Linked DNA regions of Homo sapiens: region 2 is linked to region 1. Evidence: promoter capture Hi-C in human tissues and cell types (Jung and others, 2019). All regions are on one chromosome and are shown on one strand. The core of a region is centred on a gene start or on the middle of the fragment in contact, and the rest is flanking DNA. Distances in the headings are between cores, read along the strand shown. Region 1 holds the start of THAP4 (THAP domain containing 4). Region 2 holds the start of DUSP28 (dual specificity phosphatase 28).

The links. Contacts are between HindIII fragments. The study calls those that stand out against the background at their distance.
Region 2: a contact is called between the fragment with the promoter of DUSP28 here and the fragment with the promoter of THAP4 in region 1, in 1 of the 25 tissues and cell types used here (H1 embryonic stem cells).

Annotation. Positions count from the first base shown.
Region 1 is chr2:241,633,765-241,638,407 of GRCh38, reverse strand. It overlaps THAP4 (THAP domain containing 4), which reads left to right and starts at 1,250. Exons shown (of 6, transcript NM_015963.6): 1 at 1,250-1,467; 2 at 4,329-4,643. The coding sequence starts at 1,391. ATG4B (autophagy related 4B cysteine peptidase) reads right to left here and starts at 715. Exons shown (of 13, transcript NM_013325.5): 1 at 684-715. The coding sequence starts at 693. RefSeq lists silencers at 258-397, 438-627, 648-697, 1,068-1,417, 1,448-1,517 and 1 more and an enhancer at 167-1,094. The HindIII fragment of the contact is 20,762 bases long and covers 1-4,643 here.
Region 2 is chr2:240,557,242-240,561,608 of GRCh38, reverse strand. DUSP28 (dual specificity phosphatase 28) reads right to left here and starts at 1,252. Exons shown (of 2, transcript NM_001370465.2): 1 at 532-1,252; 2 at 1-279. The coding sequence starts at 924. The coding sequence ends at 142. ANKMY1 (ankyrin repeat and MYND domain containing 1) reads left to right here and starts at 3,621. Exons shown (of 18, transcript NM_001282771.3): 1 at 3,621-3,728; 2 at 4,257-4,367. The coding sequence starts at 4,274. RefSeq lists enhancers at 34-393, 424-493, 526-667 and silencers at 764-813, 994-1,403, 3,462-3,681. The HindIII fragment of the contact is 5,674 bases long and covers 1-3,423 here.

The DNA.
Region 1 (4,643 bases), core at 1-2,500:
AAAAAAACCAACACTCCCTATACACACACACACACACTCCTTCTCTTTCTCTCTCTCTTAGGACCCCAAGAAACTAAGACCCGATGATACAAATTCACTGTTTCTCTTTCTCGTCACGGAAAAGCAGCTTGGAGAATCTACTGGTTACTAAATTGAAGACAAAAACAAAAAAGATACGTATACTGTGATGAACACGTCACGTTTCTCTCCTCCAACCTACCAATAACTTCATAAAAGTTAAAGAGCTTCCATCCCTTCACGCTCAGCTGCGGAAAGGCTACGCTTTCGCCCGCCGCTCGCGTCCCCGGCCCGGACCGCGGCCGCCCCGTTCGCCGCCGCGCCTCTCCCCGCCCGGCAGGCTCCGCCGCCCTCCACGGCCGACCTGGCGCAAGGGCCTGTGCAGCCACAACCTCCGGAGCGCTCCGGACGGGACCGGAAAAGCAGAAGCTCCAGCGCAACCGACGGCGGGTTCCGCGGCGCAGTGCGCCGCCGTCCCCCTCCCGCTCCCACCGCCCACCACCCACCAACACCGCCCCGCGCTCCCGCAGCGCCCGCCGCCCCGGCCCAGCCTGGCCCGCACCGGCGTGCCCCGAGGCGAGTCGCGGCAGCCCGACCCGAGCAGGGGAGGCCAATGATAAGGCGAGCACCTCCTGCGGAAAGACCGACCCCCGGCAACTCCTCACCTGCGTCCATCTTCCCAGTCCGGCCGCCGACTGACCCGAGCGGCGTCGCTCCGACGGGCCAGCAACGCGACGCGGCGACGGGACGCCGCGGGGGCCAATAGGTGTGCCGGCGCAGGCGGCGAAGACGATACGGCGCGCGAGCGGAAATACGCGGGAGCCGCCATTTTGGCGTACGGCCGGGCCGACGCGAGCCCCGGGGCGCCCTGCGGGCGGCATGGGGTCGTGTCGTGGGACGACGGCTGGTTCTGCTGTCCGACGGGACACTGTGTGCCATGGGTGGCGCTTCCTCCTCTTAGAGGACCCAGGAGCAGTTGTCGAGGCGGCAGAGGCGAGCTCTGTCCCCGTCCGAGCAGCCATCTTGCGGTACGGACGTGCTCGGCGCGCCCATGTCGCGGTACGGACTTGCCCCGCCGGGGCGACTCCCCCGCCCGTCTGCCCGCCTGCCGACGGACGCTGCGAGGGGCCTGCGGCGCCCCGCTGGTCCGAAGACGCCCGAACCCGCGGCTGGCGAGGACGCGGGCGGGGGCTGGGGCGGGGGCGGGCCCGCTGCGGGCGCCTGCGCCTCCATCTTGCCGTACGGCGCGGACGCCGCGGGCCGGCCCACGTCCCGAGCCGTGTCGCCGCCGCGCTCCCTCCCTCGGGGCGGTCCGCGGGCGGGCGGGCGGCTAGGGCCGGGGCCTGGCTGCGCGGCTGGGCCAAGGCCCGCGATGGTGATCTGCTGTGCGGCCGTGAACTGCTCCAACCGGCAGGGAAAGGGCGAGAAGCGCGCCGTCTCCTTCCACAGGTACGCGGGCCCCGGGCCGCCACGCCCCCGCCCCGACCCGGCCCTGCGGGGAAACTGAGGCCCCGCGGCCGGCCCGAACGCGGGGGGCGGGGGCGCCGGGCCTCGGCGGCCGGGGCGCGGGGGAGCGGGCGTGGGCGCTGTGTGACCTTGGCCCGGCCGCCGTCTCTGGGCCGGGCGCCTCGGGCAGCGCAGCCGCCCCCACCCCGGCCGCCTGGGTCCGCCCTGCGCGCGATCGATCCGGCCGGCGCCTAGGCTTCAGAAGCCGCACGCTCTGGAAGCGCAGGTCCTGGGCCGATTGTCCTGCTCGGCCGCGACTGCTGACTCTCCGGACCGCGCGGGCCGTCGGCCTGGATGTCTGCGAGCAGGAGCGACCGGGCAGACGCGACCTGCGCCTCCGTAGCTGACAGCCCCCGAGAGGGCTTTCCGGGACTGGGCCCCCGAGCCCAGGACGCGGGTACGCGCGGAGAGTCTACGGGACGGCCGGCTGGGGACGGCATCCTCCTGCGCTCCCTTAGAGCCTGGCCCGGGGCTCTCGGCCGCTTCCCACGTGGGCCCCCGCGGCAGGGCCCAAACCCCTCTAAGGCCTTGTGAGTTCAGCCTATTTCAGTGAGATTTCTGCGGATTACACGCGGGAGGCACCAGAACCGCGAACAGACTTTAAAAACCACTTTGGAGATGTTTCTGTTTTATGTTGCATGGTGTTATTTAAGTTTTAAAGACGGGAATGGCACGTGTTATTTATAGGGTTATTGAAAGTTCACAGTAGTTTGCTGTAAGTCTTAAATCATTACAATGTATTATAAGAATTAGTAACATTAGATTATTTCACAAGTCAGCCAGCGCACTTTCTTGACAATTTCCTTCAGAGCTTGTGTCCTAGAAGTTTTGTTATTGTTTTTTGAAAACGAGGCAACGTGTTGCAACGGTCTAACATGGTATGGGAGGAAAGGACATCGGAATTGGGGGTGGGGGGGTACCTTTGCAGTTGGCCTCACAGTGTTCAGAAAGGAGGTTAGAAGGTCCTGTTGCTTAGAACGGCCCAGTCCATCCTGTTAGGATTTGTCCTGGTCCACACTGGCCTCAGGTGGAGCAAATAGCAGTTAGAACTGACCACCCTGTCCCTTATGTGCACATTAGGGCCTGGTTTTTTTTTCTTTTTTTCTCTTTTTTTTGAGAAGGAGTCTCCCTCTGTCGCCCAGGCTGGAGTGCATTGGTGCGATCTCGGCTCACTGCAACCCCCGCTCCTGGGTTCAAGCTATTCTCCTGCTTCAGCCTCCCAAGTAGCTGGGATTACAGGCAAGCGCCACCACGCCTGTCTAATTTTTTTGTATTTTTAGTAGAGACAGGGTTTCACCATATTGGCCAGGCTGGTCTCGAACTCTGGCCTCAAAGTCCTGACCTCAAGTGATCCACCCGCCTCGGCCTCCCAAAGTGCTGGGATTACAGGCATAAGCCACCCCGCCCGGCCCAGGCCTATGTTCTTAAACACAGAGTTTGCCTTAATGAAGAAATGGTTATGAAGGATCTTTATTAGGTAATAAAGAAATGACTAAACATCCTATTCAGTATCTTCCTGCGCTGGTTGCTTTTTTCTCACCATTTTTAAATTATGGTATAATACATGTAACATGAAATTTACCATCCTAACTTTTTTTGGAGACAGAGTCCCACTCTGTCACCCAGGCTGGAGTGCAATGGTATGACCGTAGCTCACTGCAGCCTCAGCCTCCTGGACCCAAGTGGTCCTCCCATCTCAGCCTCCAGAGTAGCTGGGATCACAGGCATGAGCCACGGCTCCCAGCCTTTCCTACCGCTTTTTCAGTGTACAATTCATGGCAACAAATACATTCACGTTGTTGTGCAGCTGTCACTACCATCCACCTCCAGAATTATTTTTATTTTGTAAAGCGGAATCTCTGGACTCATTAAACATTAATACCCCAGTCCTCCTCTCCCTAGGCTCTGGGAACCCGCATTCTCCTGTCTCTATGAATTTGATTACTCTGAGTACCTCATGTGAGTGGTATCATGCAGTGTTTGTTTTTTTGCACCTGCCCTATTTCATTCAGTATAATGTCCTCAAGGATCATCTGAGTTGGTTGATTTTTTTTGAGGGGAGAAGACCGGGTTTCACTCTGTTCCCCAGGATGGGGAGCAGTGGTGCAGTCTTAGCTCACTGTAACTTCGAATTTCTGGGCTCAAAGAACCCTCAAGCCTCAGGCTCCCAAGTAACTGGAACTGCAGGTGAGCACCATTGTGCCCTGTCCCTGGGCTGGTTGACTTTTAAAAGGAGCATTTTTACTCCTGGAGGTGGGCATGCAACAGGAACACAGAACTGTAGCTCTGGAGTCTTCTGGAGGTCTCCAGATTCTCAGCTGCTTGCGCACAGCCAGGGCTGCCTCCATGCAGTCCTGACCTCTCACGCCCTAGTGTCTGTGGATGCTGGCCCTGGTTTTGGTACCCAGAGTCCTACCTTCCAGGCAAGTTGGGAGGGTTGGTTAGCAGTCAGCTTCTAGGAGCTATTTCCTGCTGTCCTGAGGCCATCCTGGCACTGTCTGTCAGCATCCTGTGTCCCCATTGGGCATTTACCACAGCCTGGGGAGCAGTTGGTTACCTTCTTTCCCATCCGCCCTACAGACTATAAGCTCTGTATGGGTAGACAACGGGTCTTTCAGATTTCTACTCCAGTAATAACTGCAGGTAGAAGATGTTCTTTAAATCTTTTTGAAGTATTTTTTTAAGTGGATGAAGTCAATACGGCTTAGGGTGCGTGCAAAAATACTTGTTTTGCTTTTACAGTTGATTATTTTAAGGGGAGACATTTAATTATTTCTAATTACTTTTTGTCATTTGTCCTGTAGGTTCCCCCTAAAGGACTCAAAACGTCTAATCCAATGGTTAAAAGCTGTTCAGAGGGATAACTGGACTCCCACTAAGTATTCATTTCTCTGTAGTGAGCATTTCACCAAAGACAGCTTCTCCAAGAGGCTGGAGGACCAGCATCGCCTGCTGAAGCCCACGGCCGTGCCATCCATCTTCCACCTGACCGAGAAGAAGAGGGGGGCTGGAGGCCATGGCCGCACCCGGAGAAAAGATGCCAGCAAGGCCACAGGGGGTGTGAGGGGACACTCGAGTGCCGCCACCAGCAGAGGAGCTGCAGGTTGGTCACCGTCCTC
Region 2 (4,367 bases), core at 3-2,502, 1.1 Mb after region 1:
GAAATATAAAATTAAAAGCACTATGTTTCACACACACACACACAAAGGAAAACTCGATATGACAGTGAGGAAGAAGGGTAAAGACCAGCCTTCTGTATCAGTGCAGGGACATCCTTCCTCCAGGCAGCAGGCCTTCAAGCTTCAAGCCTCAGGGCCCAACCCTAAGGCTGGGGGCTCTCCCTGCAGGCAGGACTGGGCCTGGAGGGCCTCCTCATACTTCTGGAGCTGAGACCAGAAGCCCGGGTTCGGTTCTGCTACCGGGCGAGCGCTCTTCACCATCTGCAAACAAGAAGTGTACTGAATAACCCCAAGTCGCGCTAATGGCCAGCAGGGGCCAAGGCGGGCCCAGCTGTAAGAGTGGGCCCCGCCCAACCCGGAAGTGCCTCTCTGCTTCCCTAAGCCCGCCCTCACGAGAGAGACCCGCCCCTCCCGGAAGTGCCTGTCCCAATCCCGAAGCCGGCCCCGCCCGGAAAACTCGTCCCCGGAAGACACGCCCCTCTCGAAACACCGCCCCCCTAAAGGCCCGCCCACCTGGAAGGCCTTCGCCAGGCTGAGGCCGCGGTGCCGCATGAGGTACGCGGTGCAGACGGCGGCCGAGCGGCTGCGGCCGTTCTTGCAGTAGACTAGGCAGGCGCCGCCGGCGCGCACCGCGGCCTCCATGGCGGCGCACGTGGGCTCCAGGTGCGCCAGCAGGTCCTCAGCCGGGTCGTCGAACACGGGCACGCGCAGCTCTGCCACGCCGGGCGCGCGCGGGCCGGGCTGCTGGCGGGAGACGTTGACGCACAGCGTGACTCCCGCGCGCGCCAGCTGCTCCTCCGCGCCCGCGGCTCGCGCGCTCCCGAGGAAGAGTGAGGGCGCGACGCGCACCAACGGTGGAGGTACGGGCGAGGCGGCCCCGCGGCGCCCAGCTTCTGCCGGTCCCATGGCGCCCGCCGAAGAGTCTGCTTTTGGGCCCTGAGGATCTATTTTGGGGGCTCAGGCGCCCGCCCAGGAGTCTATTTGTGGGAGCCGGGCGGGCCGCCGGGCGCCCCCGGGTCCTAGAGGCCTCCGAGGTGGACCAGGCTGGGGCTTGGGTCCCCCGCGGGCGCTGGGCCGGGACAGGGGGCTTGGGTCTCGTTGGGGCCGGGGCATGGCGGGAGGTTTGGGCCTCACCAGGGCGCCGGGGCCTTGGACCGCTCTGCGTCCCATGTTCTCTGTCCCCGGGCGCCGTCCTCCCCGCCCCCGCGGCCTGTGGCACTGGGCTTGCGTCTGTGGCTCTTGGGCGCAGCGCCCTGCCCGCTCTACTGCGGCGTCTGGCGCGGAGGCGTGGCTTGGCCGGGCCCGCCCACTTCGCGTCCGCGTCGTTCGGCTAGGGCCCCGTGGCTACCCGGTGCACGTGGACGGCGGGCTGCGTGGTTCCCGTGTCTTCACCCTTTCCCTAGTGACTGCGTTGTCGGCTTTACGTTTATTCCTTTTTGTGGCCCGCTTTGTAATTGGTGCATTTTTTTCTATGTATTATAACACATGGCTCATAAAATAAAACTAATTTCTATTTTCATCACTTCTTCATAGACCACACTATTCCTTTTGCTGTTTCTAAGTAATTTATTGGGGTCAGCATTGTAACTTTAAAAAATTTAATATCACTTAATGTCCATGAAATTGCCATTTAAGACTCCTTCAATTTTTCTGACATCTGGTAATTTTCAGGCAATGGATACACTGAAAAGCAACTGTCTCAACAGCCCTACAGACATTTAGCAATTGAAGTTTCAGTTGCATACAGTCTCTCTCTGGGTTATCGTCATTGCTTTGTCCATCAGCCTTCTAGCATTGGTAACTGTCAGATCTTTATTGCAGCCTGGGGTTCACTCTTGAGCTAAAGACTCAAATATGTCTGCAGCCAGGTCTTCCCTGGTTGCAGCTCCAGACATCACCTCCGTGGAGGTCTTATCAGCATCTGTTTCCCACTTCCTCCACCCTAAGGAAGGACTCCAACTTTCCTAGGATGGAGGAGTGGAATTCCCTTTTTTTCCCTGGCGTTCATGGGAGCCATTGATTAGGTTGGGACACTGTCTCCCTCCGCTTTCTAGGAGTTGGCTCTGTCTCTGGCCAAAAGTGAAGGCCACACTCCCGTGACTGCTCTGGGAATGAGCTTGGTGTCTAATAACCCATGAAGGAGAGAGCACTTTGGAAGGCTCCTCTGTTCTCTCATGGCCATAAGGGGAAGCCAGCCTTGGGTGAAAGCAGAGGAGATGGGAGAGCCAAGGTCCTTGATGCCACTGTTGGGCCACTGAAATGAATCAAACAAAACCTGAAGTCCCTCCTCCTCCTGGACTGTTTCATGAATCATCATCACCCTTTACGGTTGGAGGATGGTTGAGGTGGGTTTTCTGCTCCAAAGCCTGCTACTTGAACCATCATGCTCCCACTCCATTGAGGTAATGGATTGGGAACCAATTCATCCTAAGTGTCTCTGCATCTCATTGCCACACTTAGTCTGGGCCAGCCTCTGTCTCCTGGACTTGGTGCTAGTCCCCCACAGTGTAACCAGAATGTGCTTGCTAAGAACAGAGGGTTTCTACATGTTGGTTCTGACTCCTTAGCAAGTTGTAATTCACAACTAATGTGGGTTGTGAAATCAATTCTGTGGGTCATGATCAGCATTTTAGTTTTTAGAGAAATAATAGACTACATGAAAATATTAGAGTGCATGCATGTAGTATGCCGAACTTTTAATGAAACATTTTTCTGAGTGGTTTGTACTGGGTCGTGGTGTAAAATGAGATTTTAGAGAGAAGTGAACTCAACAGACAGGCACTGGCGTGTGGAGGCAGAGCCCCTAGAACCCCAGAATCCTGGCCCAGCCTTAGTCCTTAGTCCCCGGAAAGCTAGCCAGTGGGGAGGGCCAGGGCATCAGCTCTTCACACCCCCTGCCCTGTTCTCAGAGGCAGTCTGGGTTGAGAAAACGCAAGCCCTGCACCTCCAAGAGCCTCTCCCCTCTTTGCAGGAAGGCCCAGCTGTTTCCCACCATGGTGCCTCTGTACATCCCAGTCCAGTTCCTGAAATGCGCTCTGTAGCCTGGAGAGCTCCTGCGCATCCTGTGAAGCCCCATCAAGAATCCGCTCTCCTGCAGTCCTTCCCCGAGGCCCTCGGAGGGTCCAAGACAGCCAATCCCTCTTCTCTGCGGTGACTCTTGCGGCCTCCCTCATCTCGTTCCCTCCGCAGGCCTCGAGTTACCCTTGCGCCTTCCACATTTACTGAATGAACAAAGGCCGGGGCTGGAATCAGGCAGGGCTTGAGCAAGTCGTGGCTCCACGTGCTAGGTGATCAGGGCAAGTTAATTAACACTTGGGCCTCAGTTTCCTCAGGTGTCCCACGGCGCTCCCTGTGCCCCCATCACGGGAGTGTTGGGGGAATTTAGCGCTTTCTCTCCCAGGGGTACTCGGCCCAGGGGCTGACCGGGTAAGCGGGAGGCTGGCACCGAGGCCCGCGGGGTGTCGGCCCCAAGCCCCTGAAGTCACAGAGGGCGGGCACGCCCGGAGGCGGGGCCGGGTGCGTCCTGGCGGGGGGATTGGCGGAGCCGGAGAGTGGCAGCGGGCATGGGGCGGGGCTGTCTCCAGGGAAACGCGACGCTCTCCGTAGGCGCAGGGCTGGCAAGCAGTCGGGACGGGAGCGCGGGCGTCCGCGGTGGCTGCAGTCCCGTCGGTCTCCCTGCTGTCCGGCGCGAGCTCTTCGAGTCTTGCTTGGTGCGGTCTCGCGACAGGAGCGCTGGGAGCCGGGGCTAGGGGGATCCCGGAGCTCCGTGGGGCGGCGGGTGCGGGGGGGCGCCAGGCTCGCGGTCCCCACCCCAGGGAGGGGCCGAGGGGCTGGGGGCGTGGGGTTAGGTGGGCGCGGCGTCTCCCGAGCCCACCCTCGAGCGCTGGCTTCAGAGGCCCGTGGCTGAGACCCGCTGTTAGCGGCGCCTCCTGGGCGATAGTGGGTGCGGGCCTGGCCTGGCCACGTGGCCGCGACCGCCCTTGCTGTGATTCCCGCCCACGAAGGGACAGGGACACCTGGGGACGCGGGTGAAGTTTACCCATGGTTCCGACAGGTCTCCCTGAGGACTCCCAGGGATGGTGGTCCGGGACCTGTGGGTGGCGGCCCAGGCTCCGGCGCGGTTCAGGGAGGGGCTTGGGTTCTCTGAGGCTCAGGGGCCGCGGGCCGGGCCTCGGGCGCCCTCTGAGTTCGCGGCGGGAGCCCTGGGGGCACATGTGCGGTCCTGACGTCGCTTGCAGGTTGGAAGACCACAGACATGGAAGGGGCCCATGCCTCCCTTAGCTTAGAGGACGAAGTCTCTGGGGCTGGCAGCCGCCAACGCCCGCTAGAGGGGAAGGGCGGCGAGACCC